4 separate regions of the Homo sapiens genome follow, and regions 2, 3 and 4 are each linked to region 1. The links are contacts of gene promoters, found by promoter capture Hi-C in blood cells and fetal thymus (Javierre and others, 2016). All regions are on one chromosome and are shown on one strand. Each heading gives the region's core, a stretch centred on a gene start or on the middle of the fragment in contact. The rest is flanking DNA. Distances are from core to core; before and after follow the strand shown.

The links. Contacts are between HindIII fragments. The CHiCAGO score rates a contact against its expected background, and 5 or more counts as called.
Region 2: a contact is called between a fragment that was not itself captured here and the fragment with the promoter of RPL22 in region 1, in 1 of 17 cell types (erythroblasts). The highest score is 6.5, in erythroblasts.
Region 3: a fragment that was not itself captured here is called in contact with the fragment with the promoter of RPL22 in region 1 in 3 of 17 cell types (total CD4 T cells, erythroblasts and M1 macrophages); the score reaches 6.6 in total CD4 T cells.
Region 4: a fragment that was not itself captured here is called in contact with the fragment with the promoter of RPL22 in region 1 in 2 of 17 cell types (naive CD4 T cells and naive CD8 T cells); the score reaches 6.9 in naive CD4 T cells.

The regions. Positions count from the first base shown.
Region 1 is chr1:6,196,227-6,201,761 of GRCh38, forward strand. RPL22 (ribosomal protein L22) reads right to left here and starts at 3,369. Exons shown (of 4, transcript NM_000983.4): 1 at 3,336-3,369; 2 at 1,426-1,530. The coding sequence starts at 3,347. RefSeq lists a silencer at 3,121-3,260. The HindIII fragment of the contact is 15,793 bases long and covers 2,249-5,535 here.
Region 2 is chr1:3,644,661-3,649,764 of GRCh38, forward strand. WRAP73 (WD repeat containing, antisense to TP73) reads right to left here. Exons shown (of 12, transcript NM_017818.4): 2 at 2,748-2,900; 3 at 2,006-2,122. Among named protein-coding and RNA genes, the nearest start is that of WRAP73, 2.9 kb to the right of the region's middle. The HindIII fragment of the contact is 1,393 bases long and covers 3,159-4,551 here.
Region 3 is chr1:3,846,811-3,852,079 of GRCh38, forward strand. CEP104 (centrosomal protein 104) reads right to left here. Exons shown (of 22, transcript NM_014704.4): 3 at 1,798-1,971; 4 at 665-803. It overlaps LOC124903829 (a long non-coding RNA gene), which reads right to left and starts at 4,909. Exons shown (of 2, transcript XR_007065439.1): 1 at 4,876-4,909; 2 at 3,001-4,492. RefSeq lists an enhancer at 3,788-4,288. The HindIII fragment of the contact is 1,227 bases long and covers 1,847-3,073 here.
Region 4 is chr1:3,776,040-3,781,486 of GRCh38, forward strand. LRRC47 (leucine rich repeat containing 47) reads right to left here. Exons shown (of 7, transcript NM_020710.3): 7 at 2,520-5,297. The coding sequence ends at 5,049. Among named protein-coding and RNA genes, the nearest start is that of SMIM1, 6.0 kb to the left of the region's middle. The HindIII fragment of the contact is 9,771 bases long and covers 1-5,447 here.

The DNA of each region.
Region 1 (5,535 bases), core at 2,119-4,618:
AACAGATGAGTGGGCTGAGGGAATGGCTCAGAGGGAGGGAGGCAGGAATAATGCCAGAACAGGGCCACCATGTGAATACCAAACTGGAAGACACCAAAGTTGAAAAAGAGGAGGCCACAGAAAAGCCAGAAGTCACTGGATAGAGAAAGAACTAAGGAAATAGGGGATTTCTTGAAGGACACAGATGCAAACAGCATCTACATAAAGGCAATAAACTATAAGAGGTTACCTAAATTCCATTCTGGATAATTCGTGACCATAATTATTTTGTGTTTAAAAATTATTTTTGTTGTAATGATACTGATCCTGGCAATAGTTCAACCTTCTGGAGAATTTAGAGCAAATGCAAATTTAGGAGACTTCTACACACAAATACGAAGTCTGAATCCCCCAAACATGGCTATTAGAGGAAAAAGAATAAAATGTCAAAACCAAACTGCTGAGTCAAAATGTGGCGGAAGGATTATTTAATATTTCTAGATTGCAATAGGATAGAGGAATATTGGGGAATGGGCCAAATACAGGGGCAAAAAATCAGCACAGAGCAAGATCTGAAGAAAAAAAAAAAAGCTCCAATTACAATTCAGCAAGCAGGGTACTTTAAACACTGAAGCTCAGATGCTTCATAATATAGAAAAGCTTCGGGAACTGCTGCCACCTGTCCAAAGCTCCACATCAAAGCAGTGAGACCCAGGACAGAGGCAGCCCATAGTCAGGATCAGGGTCCCTCACTTATGCTTAAACACACCAAACAGCAAGGGGGATGCCATGGACCCAGTGAAATTTGTCTGTTTCTCAGTAACTTTTTTTGTTTTGTTTTTGAGACGGAGTCTCGCACTATCTCCCAGGATGGAGTGCAATGGTGCGATCTCTGCTCACTGCCACCTCCGCCTCCCGTGTTCACGCGATTCTTCTACTGCAGCCTCCCGAGTAGCTGGGATTACAGGTGCACACCACCACACCCAGCTAATTTTTTTGTATTTTTAGTGGAGACGGGGTTTCACTATGTTGGCCAGACTGGTCTCGAACTCCTGACCTCATGATCTGCCCGCCTCAGCCTCCTAAAGTGTTGGGATTACGGGCGTGAGCCACCGTGCCTGGCTTGTTTCTGGGTAACTTTTAAGTAAAATCATTTGTGGAAACTAAAGGAGAAAAACAAGATAGTCCTCTAACACCTCTGTGCTAGAGCCCTTCTTGCTTATTCTAAGCCCATCTCCTTTTACTCCTCACAACTGTTGCACACACAAGAAGAAACAAGACTTGGAAACAAACAAGTAATCTGCCCACATTCCCAGGGTGAGATGATACAGCCAGACCTGTGAAGCTGCCTATAAGCCTGAAAACAGAAATGTACCCCAGTAGGTTTTCTCAACAGTATCTCAAAATGTTCGTGACCACCCGAGTGGCAATAAGGATGTAACTTACAAAATTGGCAGCATCCATGATTCCATCTTCTACAGGGTGGGTGCAATCAAGAGTGAACTTCAGAACTTGCTTCTTTTTTTTGCCCCCCTTCACCACAAGCTTTTTCTAAGAAAATACACAAATGATAACAGAGATGAAGTTTCAGTCAGTCGGAAAAACAAGATTAACAGAACCAGAAACGTCATAGGTATAAAAGTCCATACAAATACAAAACTAACGGAAGTGTGCTCCCTTTGCCAGAGGGCCAAGAGGCATCACTGCCTGAGTGCCAGAGGTATAATGGGGCAGATGCTGCTGTACAAGCTTGGGGCCTGGGGTCATGCCCTTTTGATGGGGAAATCATTCTAGCACTCTTGACTCACTCAAACTTTCCAGTCTCCCCAATCTCTACAGGCATGAAGGTCTCTTAGTTTATGAACCACAATAAAATGAACACTTCCTTTTGTTTGCCCTAACATTCCCAATTTCAAAAAAATACTATTTTTCCAAAATTAGAGTGCAGGCATACAAAATGCCTTGCATACCCACAATTTTCATATGAAATCAATCCTTGTCCTACATGTTCAGAGTAGGGTCCTGATCCGTCTTAGCTCATCTCCCTTAATCCTGTCTCATCCACCTTCTCATGAAGGGAGTTGCAAAGTATTCTAGGTGCCTGTCCACTCCAGCTTGGACAAGGTTAAGGCTAAAACCTAGAATCTTATTACAACACTACCGTCAAGAACTTCTGACATTTTGATTCGCTTCATCTATGCATTAGTACTTCCAAACCACCCGGCAAAGCACATCCTACAAGGTTCCAGTTTCTTCACTCTTACGAAGAAGCTTGTGTTAATCTTATCTCTCTACAAACTTGACACCATTAATGCACTTGTGCATCGTACCAACCTGTACTTTCACGTTTAAAAGCTCTGCAGAACTAAATAGACTTTTCCAAAAACACATCTTACCTCCCTTCATGTTTAAAAGAACTTCATCTAAAACTTGTGTTAACTGGATCAACTTTTCAAACATTTGGCCACTACAAAAATCACTGATTTATTTTTTACAACGTCTCTTCGCAGTAATAATCTAAGAGGGGTACTTTAAGATCTATTCCGAACACACACAATCAATCAAGAGACCTACCCACAACGGGCTTGATACTTCTCCATCAAGGTTTTAAACCAAAAGGCATTCAAAAGCCCAACCAGACAGAAAGAGCAGAAGAACCGGAAATGTTAACCAGGGAGTCCCAACAAAAGAGGAAAAGTAGGATCTTGGGACGAAGAACACGGAAAAACAACTTTCTCAAATAACCTAGGAGGAGGGCGCCGCACAGCCCAGTCCCAGCATAGCTAAAGGAGAATGCAATGAGAGCCTTCTCCCTACACCACTGCAACACCCGTTTGGGTCTGTACAGTGCGCCCTGATAAACTAATTTCCTCTGGGGACGCTAAAAAGCTCCTCAAACCCAGGCCTCCTCTCCGAAAGCACGCCGACCAAGCCGCCCTTCCGCGGATTCGTCCCCGAGTCTTGGCCGTGGACTTCCGAATGCGCGGCTCCCCAGGGTAGCAGGTCCCGTTCTTCTTCCCCGCCCTCCACCCAGGTAATCAGGCCCCCGGCCGGGGTCCGAGGACCAGTGGCCGGCCCAGACCGCAGTCTCCAGGCTCCAGCTCCCCGCTAGCCCCTAGCTGGGGCCCCGGGCCTCCGAGACCTCCCGGATCTCCCTCACGAGCCTCGGGCCGCGGCCTCCTCCGCCTACAACGTGCTGGGATCGGCAGGGGCTCTGGCCCGCTCCGGCCGACCTGCCAGCCCACCCCAGCAGGACGCTGCAGGGCGCCGTCCCCAGCGAGCCTGGGTAGATGCCGGGCTCGGCGAGGCCCACGTGCCTCCCCTGGAGCCGAGGCCTCACGCGGAGCCATACTAACCACAGGAGCCATGGCGGCAGCGGAGTTAGAAAGGGAGGTGAGCGAACTACGCAGACGCAAAGAGCCCGCAGCGCGCAAGGCACGCAGGGTCCAGGCCGCACTAATCACTTTGCCACGCCCCTCGTCCGCCACCTTTTCTCTTGGTTATGTACGATAGGGGAGCGATTGGTTTTTCCTGAATGCAAAACGCGTCCTCTCCCAGGCCTGGAGGGTTTCTGGGGAAGGAAGGAGGCCCGGCGGGCTGTCCCACTGCGAACGATCGGAGGGGGGAAGCCAGACTGGACGAGCCCAAAGATAAATAAAGGGGTTGGCTTTACTTTTTGAAAGTCTTGGGAAGAAAAAAGAAATAAGGAAATTCACTATACTGTAAATTACCAGCTAGTGGGATGGAAATCGAATCTACTAATTTGGGGAAGTGGGAAAATTCCTTGTAGCCACCGGGAAATTTCGTTCAGAGGTCCCAATGCCAGACCACTATGGCTTCCTCAAAAAGCCCCAGCTTGGAAGCTCATGCCCAGGGGCTGTCTCCCAGTGCCTGTCCTTTTTGCTGTAGCCAGGCCGCCCCCTCGCTGATCACCACTCCCTAGTTTCCCAGCCCAAGCCTTCTAGTTTCCCATCCCAAACCAGTAAGTAGTTGAGGACCACCAGGAGATCTGGAAAATGCAGATTCCAATTCCAGCGGTCTCAGTGGCCTGAAATTCTGCATTTCTCACAAGCTCTCAGACGATGCTGATGCTGCGAGTCCATGGACCGCATGTGGAGAAGCAAAGGTCCTCATCCCCAGGCCCACAGGTCCCTTGAACTGGGCTACTTTGCACCCAGTCACCCGCTGCGTCCTCACGGAATTATATTCCAGGATCCTGAATTGTAAATCACTCAGTGGCACACACACTCTCCACTCCCTTTACCTGGCTTCAGTGTACTCACCTAGCAAAAGTCCAATCACCAGAAGAGACTGTGCTGATGGGTCTAGCTTTCAACTCAGGCCTCAAGCCGGTTGACCAAGCTCCAAAGCCAGCTGCTGTTCTTGGCTCTATAATGATCAGGCTGGGCCTCTGCAAACACTTCTGCTTTCCAGCTGATCCCGGTTTGGCTCTATCAATAGGGGGCTTTGCTTCCTGCTTGCTCCTGTCCTGTCTGGTGTCATCCACTCTTGCTTCTTTATCCTGGAGGTGGCAGTTGGAACATTCTGGAAGCAGCAGTGGAATCCAGTCTGCACTTATTCCAACATTTGCAGAACCAGCCTCGTTTTCTCCTCAGAGACACCAGCCCTAGCAGAGCAGCACCCTCTCCTCAGATGTCTGAGTTTCACCTCCCTGTGCCCCTCCTCAAGCATCTACATTTTAATAATACCACCTACCAGTGGTAGCTACTTCCTGCAGTTGCTACTGTTAGTATTATACCCCGACAGTTACCTAAACACATCTTTATACCTAGTTAACAATCCTTTATATTAAATTCTCTCAGTTAAAAACTATAATGTGTTGTCTTTTGACTGGACCCTGGCTGATAACGGACCCTAAGCGAGCCCTCAGGGCTACTGACAATCCTAAATCTCTCCCCCAAGGGACTATTTCCCTTTCTTGTTGTTTTTAATAGAGACAGGGTCTTGCTCTGTCACCAAGGCTGGAGTGCAGTGGTGTGATCATAGCTTACTGCAGCCTCAAACTCCTGGGCTCAAGTGATCCTCCCACCTTGGCCTCCCAAATTGCTGGGATTACAGGCATAAGGCACTGCACCTGGCCCAAAAGACTATTTCACACCTCAGTCATAATGCCAGCCCCTTCTTCCTAAACCTCCCTCTCAGCAGTTGACTTTTATTGTTCTTTCCTTTTTCTTTCTTTTTTTTTTTTTTTTTTCTGAGACAGGCTCTCGCTCTGTTGCCCAGGCTGGAGTGCAGTGGTGCGAATACGGCTCACTGAAGCCTTGACATCCTAGGCTCCAGCAATCCTCCCACCTCAGCCTCCTGAGTAGCTAGGACCACAGGTGTGCACCACCATGCCCAGCTGCATGTTTTTTTGTTTTGTTTTGTTTTGCTGTTGTAGAGAGTTGGTGTCTCACTATGGCTATGTTGCCCAGGCTGATCTAGAACTCCTGGGCTAAAGCAATCTTCCTGCCTCAGCCTCCCAAAGTGCTAGGATTACAGGCGGGAGCCATCACACCCAGCCTCCTCCCGTCCTTATCTACACTTGATCTTTAG
Region 2 (5,104 bases), core at 2,605-5,104, 2.6 Mb before region 1:
GCCACCAGCAAAGTGGTCATGACCTTAGTCTTAGGTTGAACAATGTCATCTAAATGTACTCTATGAAAAATCAGTTTGTTCTGTAGCAAAGGTGTTTTCAATATTGGTGTGTGTGACATGGGATGCTCAACAAAACCAGGCTTTTATCCATCTTTTAAGGTTTCTAAACTCTATAGATGGTAGTTTTCCTTCTGGGCCATTTAATAAGATAATACAACAAGGCTGACCCCATGACATGAGCCCTTCTCAAGGGCAGATTTGGGCCCAAAGCATTACAGGCCTGAAGACTGTTAGACACGGCTGCGTGAAAAGCTCAAATTATCCTCTCTGAAACACTCAGGCCGAAAGTGCCTTCCAATGTCAATACATAGTGCGGAGACATTGGTGGGCCTTTGTTTCCTGTCTTATTCTCTGACAGCCCATAATAGCAGACATTAGATTTGGAGTATTTTTTAAAATCGAAACTGAAAAATATGTAAAGCCATCCAGCCATCTGAAGCAGTTGATTCAGCAACCCTCATGGCTGGATAAAACTTTATCCCAGCCGATGCCAGCTTGAAAAAAGCCGAATGAAACCCTACAGAGCATCTGCAGCCACACGCTGGGAGAAATCCTCCCAGGTGCCATCATCTACGTGGTGTGCGCGGCGCAGCGGGACGGGAGGGCTGCAGTGTGGTGTGAGCGGCGCAGCGGGATGGGCGGGTTGCCCCGTGGTGTGCGTGGCGCAGCGGGACGGGCGGGTTGCCCCGTGGTGTGCGCGGCGCAGCGGGACGGGCGGGTTGCCCCGTGGTGTGCGCCGTGCAGCGGGACGGGCGGGTTGCCCCGTGGTGTGCGCGGCGCAGCGGGATGGGCGGGTTGCCCCGTGGTGTGCGCGGCGCAGCGGGATGGGCGGGTTACCGAGGTGCAGCCAGCAGCCCAGACAGCTATGAGCACTCAGTGGACTTGGGCCCAAACACTGGGATCCAACTCCATCAGAAAAGCACATTATTAAAGGAATTCGTCCATTTTTCTGTATCTTAAAAAGACACTGCGGACACCAAAGACCTGGTATCTAAACACTTGACATATGCCTAATTTTAACTTAAAATGCAGTCTCCTATCCCAGATCCCTCTGATTTATTCTCGGATGTCAACATTCCCCTCCGCGCTGAGCTCAGCACGGAGGCTGTTGTGCGGTACCTACAGCAGGTGAATGGGCGGCTGCCGACCGCCCCGAGCCACGCCCCCAGGCCAGGCTCCTGAAGGAAAGGTGCGAGCCGGCTCATATCACAGCGCATTTTCTATCGTTGAATTAAAGGGAGTGCCGAAATCCTAAAAAATCTAAATTAAGATTTTTAAAATGTTTTTTCTTCAAAACTGGACAAAAGATCAGACAATAATACTTAGTGGCTTATAATGCTCTGACCTAAAATATACACACCACTATATACGCTCCCCGGCTCCCTCCAACCCCGCCAATCTACCAGCCACTCGGGAGCCACCTCAGTCATCAGACCCAGGGCAGCAGACAGTGCCTGTGTTCACGACACCCTTATCTGACTCAGTAGCAGCCCAAAGCACGGGCGGTGGGGCTCGCAATCTGGATACGCCAAAGAGAAGCCACAAAGTGCTTCCTTTAAATGACGAGCTGAAAGTTCTTGACGCAACAAGGAAAGAAAAAATCCTATGCTGAGGTTGTTGCTCAGATCTTCAGTAAGACCAAATCTTCTATCCATGCAATTATAAACAGTATATTGTTATCCTTGTTCTATACTATGATTGTTGCTAATCTCTTACTGTATCTAATTTATAAATTAAATGTATCACAGGTATGCTGTATAGGAAAAAACACAGGAAATACAGGGTTTGGTACAATCTGAATCCCCTGGTGGTCTTAGAATGCATCCCCTGAGGATAAGGGGAGACTAGCATACTCCAAACACACCCCCTCTCGCACTCCCCAGCTGTTTCGAGAGCAGAGGACAGGATCACATGGCCAGTAAGGTGTCTTGGGGCTGACACTTACATGGAATTCCGTGGTGTTGAGAATGTGGCGCCCGTCCGGGCTCCAGCACGAGGCCACCAGCCCGGCTGAGCCCTCGTCTATTTTGCAGTGCCATTCGGGCTGCTCTAAAGACCAGACCTGGATTGAGAGAAGAAAGAAACACACAAGTGCAAACTCATCAGCACCGAGAGACAGCGAGGACAGCTCGCTTAAACGCAGCGGAGACCCGACCGCACAGGGTGTCTTCAAACTCATCAGCAGTCTATAGCGAGGCCTCGCCGAGAGACAACTCCCTTAAAACCAGCAGAGACCCGATCACACAGGGTGTCTTTTAGAACCTTTCATGATGAAGGGCTGGTGCTGGATTCCAGTGTAAAAGTAAGCCACGCTTCTTGGTGATTTCATTTCGTTGTTGTTTTAAAACTGTTTATTCACATTGTCATTCCTAAGACCTCATTTAGTTAAGCTTTGGACACAGAAGAAAACACGACTTCTTAGGACTTCCTGAAACACACCACATCCGCGTGGCTAGATTGCTGTCAACACCTCCGTTTCTCAACTATATTGCTTAGAAATTAAGACTACGTTGGAGTTTCCTTAGTTTAAATGTTCTTAAACTTTAGAGAACGTTATAATTTCAAAAGAAAACTGGCTTTGAGCTGCACGGACTTTTTTTTCAAACTAGAAAGGCACAGAACAAAACCCCTCCTTCCCAGGGGCCCTCAGAAGGTGTCCAGATTCTAAGCGACACGGCAGCACACACCTGCACCAGCCCTCGCTTGTACATGGCGCACAGGATGAAGAGCGAGTCTGCCGACCACTCGATGTGCTGGATCTGGTCTAGGCACGTGTACAGCTGAAGGATCTGAAGGGTGTTCACATCCCGGACCACTAACCGGTACTGGACACAGGAAGCCTAAAAAATATGAGAAAGCAAGCACCTGACATTCTCCACTCCAAAAGAGGGGGGCCTTCGGAATGCTACTGCCCTGGCCTTCAGTGACTGTGGCCTTCTCTCCTGCCAGAGGTTTCATGTCTAGATCACCAGTGACATCCCCAGCCCCTAAAGATCAGTTCAGTTCATACAAGGGTAATGTTGAAATATACAAGCCAGGTTTTAATATTGCTATACTCTATTGTAAAGTATAAAAGTATGTTTTAACTCGCTACTTAAAGCTTTAAGACATTTTTAAGTCCCTTCTTATCTGTATGTTAAAAACTAAACTTAAATGGGAAGTAGCATTGGGAGAAAGCTCTTCTGTGAACTAATAACCAAAATCCTCTGCTAGTTTTATAAACACTTTTGGACAATTTCCTCAAATTTATAAAGGGTAAGAATTGAGGCTTCACAGATGACAACGAAAATGGCAAGGAATGCATCAATCTTCTTATGCAGTGCCGAACTCAGAGCCAAAACAACAGAAGATCAAAAGACAGGCTTTCACTTCTGCACACATAAAGATGCTTCGCAAATGCTCATTTATCTCCATTAACCTATTCCTAACACGAAACGGGAAATGTTTAAGTGTTAGTACTATTTTCTTAAAGATAGTTTCTTCTTGTCCATATTTGTTCATTATGTCCCTATCCAAGCAAACAATTTCAAGTAAAAATAACGCCTGAGTACTCACCTGCTGAATGTATATTTTACTACAGTTTCAAGATCAAGAACTGATGTTTAAATATTAACTGCTTCGTTAGTTTTACTTATCAAGGTCAAAGTAGTTTGTGTTTTATGAACCGATATCAAAAAAGAAAGCCACGTTAGTTTTCCGTGGGAGAAAAGAGAGACAGGCGGGTGACGGCAGATTGGAACAAGGAGCTACCACAGCACTTACTTTCTCACACTGTAGCTTTGAAAACTGTGATCAGTTACAGTGAATTCCTTATGAAATGGAATATTTTTACCAACACCTTGAGGAACCACATAAACTCTACTGCAAGATATGAAAACTAGAAACATGGACCTGCTCTCCCCAGTCCTCAGGGCTTTCAAGAAGATGATTCCAGTAACAGATCATTACCAAGTGTTTCAGGGTATTTTGACCAGAGTGTACAAGCTGGAAAAAAACACCCAAGTTAAGCAAGCAGATGTAATCTTTCTCCTTATAATTCACTGAAATTTTCATAAATGGTAAAAACAAAAAACAAACCTCTCATTTAATTGAGGAGGGGGGCACATTGAAAATATACCAAGGCTGAGATGCCATTTAAACTAATGAGGTTTTCTGTTTTGTAGCTGATGCTATTTTATGTGATTTGGAATAAAACCTCCCTGAAGAGGTAAAAAACGTAATTTGAGAGTTAAACTCTCAAAAGCTAGACAGAGCACAGGAATGTCAGGAGTGGCAAAACCTGAAAAAGCATCATGATACATCAGTCAGTTAGTACAGGTGGTGGATAAGGAAAACGAAGCCCACTTTTTACGAGGCATGTTTCTTCTTAGTGGCTTTCCAATGCCAATTGTCCCCCTCTTCTGAGGACATACATACTAGGCATCCGGGTTATCCCTCTCTTCTGAGGATATACACTACTAGGCATCCAGGTACATACACTATATGTTTTGAAGCTTAAAGTTATAGCTCTGTGATTTAAGCACCCTTCTGCCACCCATGGAACGAAGACCTCAAATCCCAGCCATGAGGACAACTACTTCCTTACCTGGGGATAGAATACTAGTATTTAAATCATTTATTCGGCATGTGGTAGAGGAGAAGAGAATTAGAGGAGAAGTAGAGATGACAAAGTAGCCACACCACTTACCAGTTTACAGGCAACAGAATCATCAATTTGCCTTTTGTGACAAAGTAACAACAAAGAGCCGACATCTCCTATACCCTCACCTGTGTGCAGTCGGCACTGCCGATACCCACCTTTCCAAGGGCACCTCCCCAGACCCCCCACCTGTCTACGGTATCTTCCTGGGTCCCGCACCTGCCCGGGCACCTGCCGGGGTCCTGCACCTGTCCGGCCCCCATATCTGCTTGGGGTACCTGCCTGGGCCCCGCACCTGCTTGGGGTACCTGCCTGGGCCCCGCACCTGCTTGGGGCACCTCCCCGGGCCCTCCACCTGTCTAGGGTATCTTCCTGGGTCCCGCACCTGTCTGGGGCACTTGCTCA
Region 3 (5,269 bases), core at 1,210-3,709, 2.4 Mb before region 1:
CTTGTGCTAATTAACAAGATTGCTTTGGACACAATTGATTTCTACTACACTAATCATGTGAGAAAAAGAAAAAAAGAAGGAAAGAAAGGGAGGGAGGAAGGAAGAGATGAAGAATTAGCAGCCTGAAGCTGGAGAGATTCTGGATTACATGCAACATTCATGTGTCCACAATTTCCACCAGGGAATTTACCTTGTGCACGTTGGGAGGGTTTATTTACAACTGTGCTGTCCTACACAAATAGGATGTGAGCCACATATGTCATTAAGGTTAAGTAGGCACATTAAAAAATTTAAAAATGCAATTAATTTTAAAAATATAGGTTAACACAACATATCCAAAATATTATCATTTCATCACATACAATTGACATAAAAGTTCTCATGAACTCTTTCGCGTTCTCCTTTTGTACTGAGTCTCTGAAGCCCACTGTCTGGTGATGCTGGCAGCAGCTCTGGGCACTAGGCCAGTTCGTGGTGGGCACTGGCCACGTGTGCCCAGAGGCTGCTGGATCAGACAGCACAGCTCAGAGAGCTCAGCAGTCTCCCAGAAGAGATCCTCTCTTATAAGATCACCTTGAAAATGCATCTAAGAAAAGATACGTGACCACATAATCCCACAAAGAAGGTAGGGGCAGAATCAAAGGCGAAGCTGCATGCATCTTACCTGATTATATATGTTGTATTTGTTGACATGGTTTTGGTGAAAAATCAGTTTAAGAAATTGTCCTACTGCATCCACATAAACTGATTTTAGTTCCCGGGCTTTGCAACCTGTCTTTTCATTATCACAGAGAGACACGTAGCTGAAAAACAAAACACAACTGAAGAATTTGAAAATGTGCTGTTCAATAAAACTGCTCCCTACTCTGATTGAACTCAATAGGCTCATTTATGTTTATTGTTTTATTTTTTAAAGCTAGACTACCCCTATGCAGGATCAACAGGTTTGAATAAAAGCTAAGTCTAGAATGAAAAACCTAGGAAAAACCCCTAGAACTCAAATTCTAATTAGTATTCTTCTTTTGTTGTTGTTGTTGTTGTTGAGATGGAGTCTTGTTCTGCTACCCAGGCTGGAGTGCAGTGGCGCGATCTTGGCTCATTCCAACCTCCACCTCCCGGGTTCAAGCAATTCTTCTGCCTCAGCTTCCCAAGTAGCTGGGATTATAGACGCTCACCACCATGCCCGGCTAATTTTTGTATTTTCAGTAGAGACACGGTTTCACCATGTTGGCCAGATTGGTCATCTAATTAGCATTCTTAAGAAAATTTCCACATCTGAAAAGTAGAGTTGAATAGCAGAATTCATAGAAATTATAGCGCTGCTTTTTAAGCACATTCAATAAGAGGCAGGTGTTAAGAAACTGTGTACTCTTGAACCAAATAGAAGTACATAACACAGGACCAAAAGTTAAGGGACAATTCATTTTTAAGAGCTTTCAGGGCCGAGCGCGGTGACTCACGCCTGTAATCCCAGCACTTTGGGAGGTCGAGGCGGGCGGATCACGAGGTCAGGAGATCGAGACCATCCTGGCTAACATGGTGAAACCCTGTCTCAACTAAAAATACAAAAAATTAGCCGGGCGTGATGGCGGGCACCTGTAGTCCCAGCTACTCGGGAGGCTGAGGCAGGAGAATGGCGTGAACCCGGGAGGCAGAGGCTGCAGTGAGCTGAGATTGCACCACTGCACTCCAGCCTGGGTGACACAGCGAGACTCCATCTCAAAAAAAAAAAAAAAAGAGCTTTCAGGTAGAATTAGCCTAAAAGCTGCCATGATACATTTTAAATTTCATTCTTACCCAAGTCTTCGAAACCGCTCTGCTTGATAGGGTGCAAAATATTCAGGCAAGCTTTCACTAATGTAGAACTCAATTTTACTTGAAATCATATACTGGTGAGCAAGTAACTGCAGTTTCCTTATTCGACATCTCTCCACCATTTGAAGGACAATTTCTTGTGGAAACTGGCAAAATCTGAAAGCAAACACATTTTTATATTTTCTGAACAACTTCTGCAGAGGGTTTCTAGATGCTAGCATCTCATTCTTGCAGGTAAGAAGCATTAACCACACACCCACTTTGAACAGAACAGTCTGTAGGTACTGATGGTACAAAGATGCCTGCGACATGATTCCTGTTCTCTCGAGCTTTTCTTGTTGGAGCTGAAGCTGGGAATTGAAATTTGACTTGATCTGCCTGTAACCCTATAGGAATCATACTCTTGGCAGCTAGTAAATGGTCTGATGTGAAACCTGCAGTTTTTCATAAGATAAATCAATCTTATGAGGCGGCACTAGTGGGCAGGACGGAGCCAAAGGATTTTCCACAGGAACTCAAATGCTTAAGGGCCCCAAGGTATCAATATTTAAGGAGTGCCTGCCTTTCACGCATAGTGGTCTAGGGAGACAAGCCTATGCTATGGGCCATGCTGGAGCTTCTTTGCTCAAAAGTGACATAACTTTTTTTTTTTTTTTTTTTGGGAAAAGGTCTCGCTCTGTCACCCAGGCTGCAGCGGTGTGATTATGGCTCACTGCATCTTTGATCTCCTGGGCTCAAGTGACCCTCCTACCTCAGCCTCCTGAGGAGTTGGGACCACAGGTGTGTGCCACTGTGCCTGGCTAAAATTTTGCCCAGGCTGGTCTTGAACTCCTGGGCTCAGGGGATCCTCCCCCTTCGGCCTCCCAAAGGGCTGTGATTACAGGTGTGAGCCACTGGGCCCAGCCCAAAAGTAACACAACGTATTAAATAACTAAGAGTTGGGTAGAGAATCACAGCAGTCAGCAAAGACCCCACACTGCTTCCAAAAATGCAAAAGTTCAAGACAGGCACATTTGGGGCAGGAGGGCAGCTGGCACAAATTGGGAAACCAAGCAACTTTTGAAATGAAATTCTTTAGTCTTTCATGTCAGTAAAGGGCTGCTTTAGATAGTTACTGCTTTTAAATACAGGGCACATATATTATCATTCATGGCGAGATTATCTGAACATAAGGACAATAAGTAATCCATTAGTTAAAAATCTTTATTAAAAAAAAAAAACTCCAAAACTGTTTAAAGAAAACCAAGACAACCGGCAAAGCTTTGAAGTTGTATACAGTCATGCACTGCATGAGACAGCGGTCCCATAAGATGACAACACTGTATTTTGACTTAGCTTTTCTATGTTTAGATATACAGATACCTACTTGTGTTACACTTGCTACCGTGTTCAGCACTGTCACGTGCTGTACAGGTTTGCAGCCCAGGAGCAATAGGCTATGCCACAGAGCCTAGGTGTGTAGCAGTAGGCTGTACCATCTGGGTTTGAGGGCACTCTAGGTGTTCGATGAAATCGACTGATGATGCATTTCTCAGAAAGAATGTCCCCATGATTGAGTGATGTAGGACTGTACTTTAAAAAATCCTTCCAAAAAGGGCCTATGATTTAGCTACTCAAATGTAGCTGATGAACACTTTATAGATGAATCAAAAATACCTTTCAAGCTGCATATGAAAAGAAACCACACAGCTAAAAAGGCTAGTATGCATTTATCCCTTCAAGATAAATTGACAGATACAGATTTTTTAAACTAAAAATAATTTGACAACCAAAAAAATGGATGCCCAGGGGCTACGGTTGGTGCAAACTTTACGGTTTCTTGGAAAAACGTCTTGCTCTGAAGGCTTCAGGCTCTCTGAATTCTGAGGTCACATGAACGGCACTGGGGGTCTCCCTATATCTCTTTAACCGCCCCGTCAGTGTCTCTCCTGGAAGTGCATCAATCTATGCCCTGAGCTCCGACGTAGAGGGTCCCACATTTTCTATGACCTGTGGTAACAGGGTGCCTTGTACTGTCATTGGGAGGCTCGGCTTCAGGGTATCCTCCTTTGTCTTTCTGCGATGTGCCTGACCTCAGGGAAGTCAAGAGACCCCGAGCCAAACCCAGTGGGAGTCTGTGGTGACCAAGGGCACACAGATCCTTTTCTTGGGTACATCCTCTGAAAGCACGTTACTGAAGTGAGTGTAGGTTATGCCCTTTAAAGCAATACCATGTCAATGCACAAGAGAACCATACTGGTGTGATTTTTATAACTACTACCAAAAAGGGTGGCTGTGTGTATACTTGAGAATCTTCAATCCCCAAATAACACGGAACATGTGCTGTGAGCGTACAGGACCTCTGCAGAGGGATGCTCCTGCCTGGGAGAGGCATGAGCAGGGTCATGGGGAGTCTGGGAGGAGAGGGCAGAGCGCTGGGCTGCCCCCGTGGGTGTGCTCCTCCTCCTGCCCTCCAGCCACAGGCTGGACCGTGTTAATGCTGCCTGCATGGGCAGTGCATCGGCCACGGCCTGGGCAGTATCAGGACGCTGGCTCGCCTGCAATCCCAGCTCTGCGGGTGACAAAGGCGCTGTCTGGCCCCTTCTGCTTGACTCTTGCTTCATTTCTCAGTTCATTCAGAACTCACTTCCGGGAAATGCAGGGACAGGGGGTCTTATTTGTTGCATCTCCTCAAAAACTCCAAAAGGAAAATACATTTTAATTGTAAATGAGATTTACATTCAATTTTCAGCAACTTGACTTCTGAATAAAAGCAAGACAGAATTATATCACTGAATTTAAAATGCCATACATATTTACGCGTTCGCGGGTTAGGAATAAATAGTAACTTCTCAGGCTTGAAAGCAAGTCATGAAAAGCACAGAGCTGACGAGGTGGGATGGGGTGGAGGGTGGGTTTTTATTCACATGACTGAGGGCGGAGGGCAGATGCCAAGTGAGTGCATGAAGGGGCTCAGCTGTAAAGACCAAAGCAGCAGAGGCAAAAAGACTTCAATGTTTTAGGAAAATAATCAAGCAAAACACTCATCTAATGAACATTTGTTTTGAGACAGCATCTTACTTGGTCACTCAGGCTGGAGTGCATGGCTATCACAGCTCATGGCAGCCTTGGACTTCTGGGCTCAAGGGATCCTCCTGTCTCAGCATCCTGAGTAGCTGGGACTGCAGGCGGGAGCCACTGTGCCCAATTGAACATTTTAATAAAGTATACGCGTGTTTAAGAGAAATGTGAAAGACATATCTTTTGGTTAAAGCTTGGTGTCATATAAAAACAGTTAGACACACACTCTTTCAGCACAGGAGCCCAACTGTAAAAGCAAAAAAAGCTGCACTCACAATCTCTGCACAGAAACTTGATGAGAATGTGCAGCCCAGCGTGTGATCAGGGAGTATGGTTAGACAGTTACGGGGCCTCATTTCTCTTCCTTCTCCTCCACATTTGCACATCTTCTTAA
Region 4 (5,447 bases), core at 1,356-3,855, 2.4 Mb before region 1:
ACAGGGCACACGCGCTGGCAGCCAGGCACACGAAGACACCAGGTGCACAGCTGTCATCGGCCCCACACGGGGGCGCACAAACACCTGGCACACAGCCCTTCAAAGGACCTACAAACAGCTGGGCACACGTGGCTGGGAGGCCTGGGCCCAGCCTCAGCAGGAGCTGCAGGACACACCCAGGCTGGGCCCTGCGGCCTGGAGCCCCCAGCTACAGCCTCCTCTCTCCCAGGGCCCAGCCCCTTCCCTTGTGAAGGCCAGGATGAGGGGTTCCTTCAGCGGACAAACCGAGCCCACCTCCCTGGCAGCCCCCCGGGGTGGGATCCTCCCGGCTGCTTTCCTCCGTGGGAGCAGTGTGCAGAGCTGTGTGGCCCTGGGCAGGCCCCTGTCCTCTCTGGGCCTTTCTGACTCCTGGTTTTGTAAGGGTGGCTATGTGTCCCCCGCCCTTGTCTCAGATGCACCATATCTTCCTTAGTAAGTGGGCACAGTTCTTCCTAGGCAGCCCACCACGCGCAGAGGCTGGGTGTGTCCCTCTTGGGGCCGGCGGCTGCCAGGGAGGACCCGGGTCTACCCTCCCTCCCCAGGGATGGGCCTGGTCCCTCCAAGTACTCCTTGTGGGCCAAGAGCCTGTGTACAGAGGCATTAAGTGTCTGTTGAATGAACGGTGGATGACAGCCCTTGCCATAGTTACCTGGCCAGGCGTGACATCCAGGAAGGCTGTGGGAAGGGCTTGTTTCCCCGGGGCAGGCCCCCCTCCCATGTGGCTCTAGGAATGCACCCCTACCAATTGGGCCCTCTGGCGAGGACAGCCGGCAGGCCTGGGGACCCGGATGTGGCTGGACCTCAGCTGTGTCCCAGGGACTTCGGTCCCATTCCCCCCACCCCGATCCTGGCCTCCAGTCCCAGCCCCCGGTCCCAACCTCCATTCTCTTGGTAGGTGCTTTCCTGGGTCTTGTGTTTGGCCCTCACCTACCACAAAAGATCCCAAAAAGCCTTGCCAGAAACATCCCCTTAGGGAAGGGGTCCTCACCCCAGGGCTGGGGGTGGGAGACACGGGCAGCCACTATCCTCACGGGCACAGAGAAGGGAGGCCACAGGGCCAGATGAGGTTATTGGAGGGCTGAGGCTGCGCCTGCCCCAGGCCAGGTCCCGCCGAAAGCATCAAGTCAGGTAAACAGGAGGGGCTGCGCCAGTCTTGGTAGGGAGGCAGACTCCACATCATCCGCCTTTGGGGCGAGCAGGCTCACTTGAGATCTGCCTGGGCCAGCCGGTGGCAGGTGGAGCTGCATGGCTGATTGCACACTGCCCCAAGGCTCCTGGCTCCAAACCCAAGGAGGGAGCCCAAGGGCCTGTCCTGGGCTGCGGTCTGAAGCAATGATGCTTTCCTGGGAGCCTGTTGTTGGGTGGGCTGCTGCCTGCCCCAGCCCCATGACAGCCTGGATCTTCAAAAAGAGATCCCTACCTCTGACCTGCCACTCCCAAGGAGGGAAAGGAGTAGCCAGCTGGTACCCTCCCTGAAGCCCAGCTTCACAGGACAGCACTGCCTTGGGGCTGCTGTAAGGAAGTGGCAGAGGCCGCTGGGCCCAGCAGTTTGGCTGCATGGGCCCCAGAAGGCAGCACTCCGACCTGGGGGTCCTGGGGCTGGGCCTCCCCAAGAACTGGTGCGGCCCAGGAGACAGGCGAGGGCACAGGATGGGGATGGGAGCTGTCCCAGTTCTACAGTCAGAGGGGAAGTGGCCCTGGTGCTTCTGCCACGGGTCCCGCATGCCAGTGATGCCCACGCACCCCCACAAATGCTCCTTCCCACCTGTCAGGGGCTGGCATCAGATGGCACAGGCGCATGTCGGGTCTGCCCTGGATCTGTCTGGCTGCATCTGGGTCCGCCCTGGCAGGGGCCCAGCATCTTCAGCCAGGGGCTCCACCAGCAGCCCTGCCAGCCCCAGCAGGGGAGGCTACAGGCAGACACCCACGGGTGCTCATTGGGCCAGGCACTCAAGTAACCCACAGCCGCCTCTCGGGCACACCACTTGTCCCCTAAGTGACCATGGTGGAGACAGCAGCTCCAGCCCCAGTACCCCCAGGGTCATGGACCTAGGCTGAGCTGAGCAGTGTCCTTACAGCTCTGGGAGGGTTGGGGAGAGGATGGGACAGGACCCTGCTGAGTGGCCGCCTGGCCTACCCTCCCAGAGACTCACGAACAGGAGGATCTGCTGTGGATGCGTCTGGGGCCTGGGCTCCTCTGACTGTGCACCTGGGGTATCCAGGCAGCCCGACACCTCTGGTCCACCTTGTGCTCCAGGCAGGGGCCCAGCAGGGTGAGGCCAGTTCCCAGGACCCCTGGTCAAGGGCACCAGCTTCCCCATGACAGTGGCAGGTGCCTCTTGCTCCCTGCTGGCAAGATCTGGGTGGGGACAGGAGGCCCTCAGCCTCCCCACATAGAAGCCACCACTGGGCTAGAGTGAGCTTTGTGACACTTCGAGCAACAACCTCTGGCAGTGCCGGTGGGAAAGGATCTGCTGGGCCAGGTGCGGAGCTGTTTTTATTAGTGAGTCGGGGGGTGGGGTGGGGTGAAGAAAACATCAGAGACACCTGTGCTGCGAGTTAAATACATTTCCAGCATCTCACGCATCACAAGCTGCATCAGGAAAGGGCACAGCATGTGGCAGCCTCATCCACACCCACGCAGTGACAGATGTGTTACAGCATGGACACCAAGTCCCCGGGAGCCAAGATGGCAGCTCCAGCATCCCTCCCTTCCTCCCTTCCTCCTTCCCGGGCTGGGCCGGGCCATGCAGAGAAAGGGCAGCCTCTGCCATGGCAGCCCCAAATCACCTCTCAGAGCAACTGTCTGGGGTCCCCAGCCCCAGAACTCCAGCAGAGTCCTGGCCTGGGGAAGCCCCCGTGCCGCCTCAAGCCTCCAGCAGGGCAGGCCCCTGGCCAACTGTGGCATCTGCCTTGACTGCCCAGAGCAGCAGGAATCAGGTTTTGGGAGGACACAAGGCAAGGCAGTCATCTGACACACCCACGGCAGTCCAGCTGGCACTGAGTGTGTGGGCCTCGTCCTGTCTGGAGTCCCCTCCCTCCCACAGTGGGCGAGACGGGAAGGCCTGGCGGTGACCAGACAAGTGGGTCCAGGTCTCAAGGCAGCCTGGCCCATGTCCTGCAAGGCTCTGAAGAGCCACCCAGCTGTTAGTCTGCCCACTGCACAGGGCCCCGGGCCTCTCAGGTTGACAACTAAAGGTGTGTGGGCTGTGGGGCTCTTGCAGATGCTTCCCAAAATCACCAGTCATTTCTACAGACACAGAAATCGAGACACTGAACAGAGAACAAATGGTGTCATTCGATAAAGCTGATGAGTCTGCTTCTCACATGGCACCCAGATCGTAAGGCAGTGGGGTCTGTAAAATCATCGCGGTGGCTGGCCGTGTCCTCATGAGCCAAGCACACTGACTCCCGGGAGTGGTGTGCACGCACATGTGGTGCCTGGACATACACGAAGACACATGGACGTGGGGGTCTGACCTGGACATTCACAACGGAAACGTCTACAACAGAAGGCGCCCAGGACCCACCTTTCTGGCGCATAAATGAAGATTTTTGGCTCAAAAACCTAAGCATCCTCCAGCTTTTGCTACCATCTGTCCCTCGGCTGGCTGAGGACTGCCGATGCTTCCCAAGCAGAGGCGTCTGGTCCACTCCTGGGGCTCCACCTGCCTGTCACTGCAGCACCAGCGTGCACACGATGGAAACCCCACCGATGCCGCTCTCCTCCGCTTGGCCCCGCTGAGCCAGGGTGAGGTGCTGCCACTGCCTTCAGCCTACAGGCTGCTTGCCTGAAGGGGTCTCCACATCTCCACCCCCACAAAGCAATCCAACAGCAGTATGAAGAGACGCAATTCTGCCAATTCTAAGGTCACATTAAAACTTTTCCCCCCAAGATTATGATCACTGCCAGCTGGAGAACCCAACGCCCTTGCACATGCCAAGCTGCATCCTGGCATGATATGGTTTTACAAGATGCTGCGTCATAGAAAGTGACCGTGCCGTTCAAGGAAACGCACATCGGTTGGCTTCCCAAGTTTTCGGGTCTCCGAACCAGTGACAGTCACGTGTCGCTCAGTGACACATGAGAAACGTGTGCTTAGCCGCTGCTGTGTGATCACAGAGTCTTTACACAAGCCTCGATGGTGCATGTAGTTTTATTTATGTGTTTTCATCTGGAAAACCAAGTGTCCCAGCAGCATGACTGAACATCACTCACTTCCCCTACTTGATCTACAAGGCCAACGACGAGAGCCCAGACCAGGATTCCAAACACACTGCACGAGAATATTGTGGATCCGCTGTCAGGTAAGTGTCCGTCACTGACCCAGACGCTGTTACGTGGCACATGACTGTACAGTGCCACGTAACAGCACTGTACTTTTCTCCCATAAACAGTTACCTGCCATGTATCTACATGATTCAGAACATTTTGAACAGTTAATTCTGACACTTGAATAATCCCATCAAAAACCGTAAAATCACTTTGATGTTGTAACGACAACATAGCATCACTTTACGACAGAATCATCTGGAAAAACAGAACAACGAATACATACATCTTAAAAAATGCTGGGGTGGGCCAGGCACAGCTCACGCCTGTAATCCCAGCACTTTGGGAGGCTGAGGCGGGTGGATCACGTAATCCCAGCACTTTGAGGGGCAGAGGTGGACAGATCATGAGGTCAAGAGATCAAGACCATCCTGGTCAAAATGGTGAAACCCCGTCTCTACTAAAAATACAAAAATTAGCTGAGCTTAGTGGCACACACCTGTAGTCCCAGCTACTTGGGAGGCTGAGGCAGGAGAATCGCTTGAACCCAGGAGACACAGGCTGCAGTGACTCGAGATCACGCCACTGCACTCCAGCCTGGCGACAGAGCGAGACTCCATCTCAAAAAAAAAAACCAACAAAAAAACTGGGGTGAAAATCTAACGGATAATTCAGCATTGCCGCATAGAAACCTCCGCAAAACCGGCCAAACAAACGCGGACAGGCGGCCCTGGCGTCAGCGCACGACAGTCACGTGGGGAGGGGCAGTGGCCAGGTCGGCCTTGGACGGGTACACCACCTTCAGGCTCCCTTCCAGATCCACCACCCGGACCTGCTCCACCACCAGAAGGGAGGGCCCGTCCTTTCCAGCACTGGGATTCGTTGTGGGATCTGGAAGTTGTCCAGAGACTGCATCGGCTTCAGTATCTGAGAGTGATCCTTCCTCTTTATTTTCTAAAGTGTACTTTTTCATTTCTGCCATTTTCTGCAAATAAAAAATACCTTTTTAACCTGGAGATGAGAGGTGACCCAGGGAAGACATGCTGCTGTCTGCCAACACAGTAAGCAAAAAAGAGGCAAGCAGGACGGGTGGGAAGTCAAGGAGCAGAGCACCACTCACGCTCAAAAGCGTTTC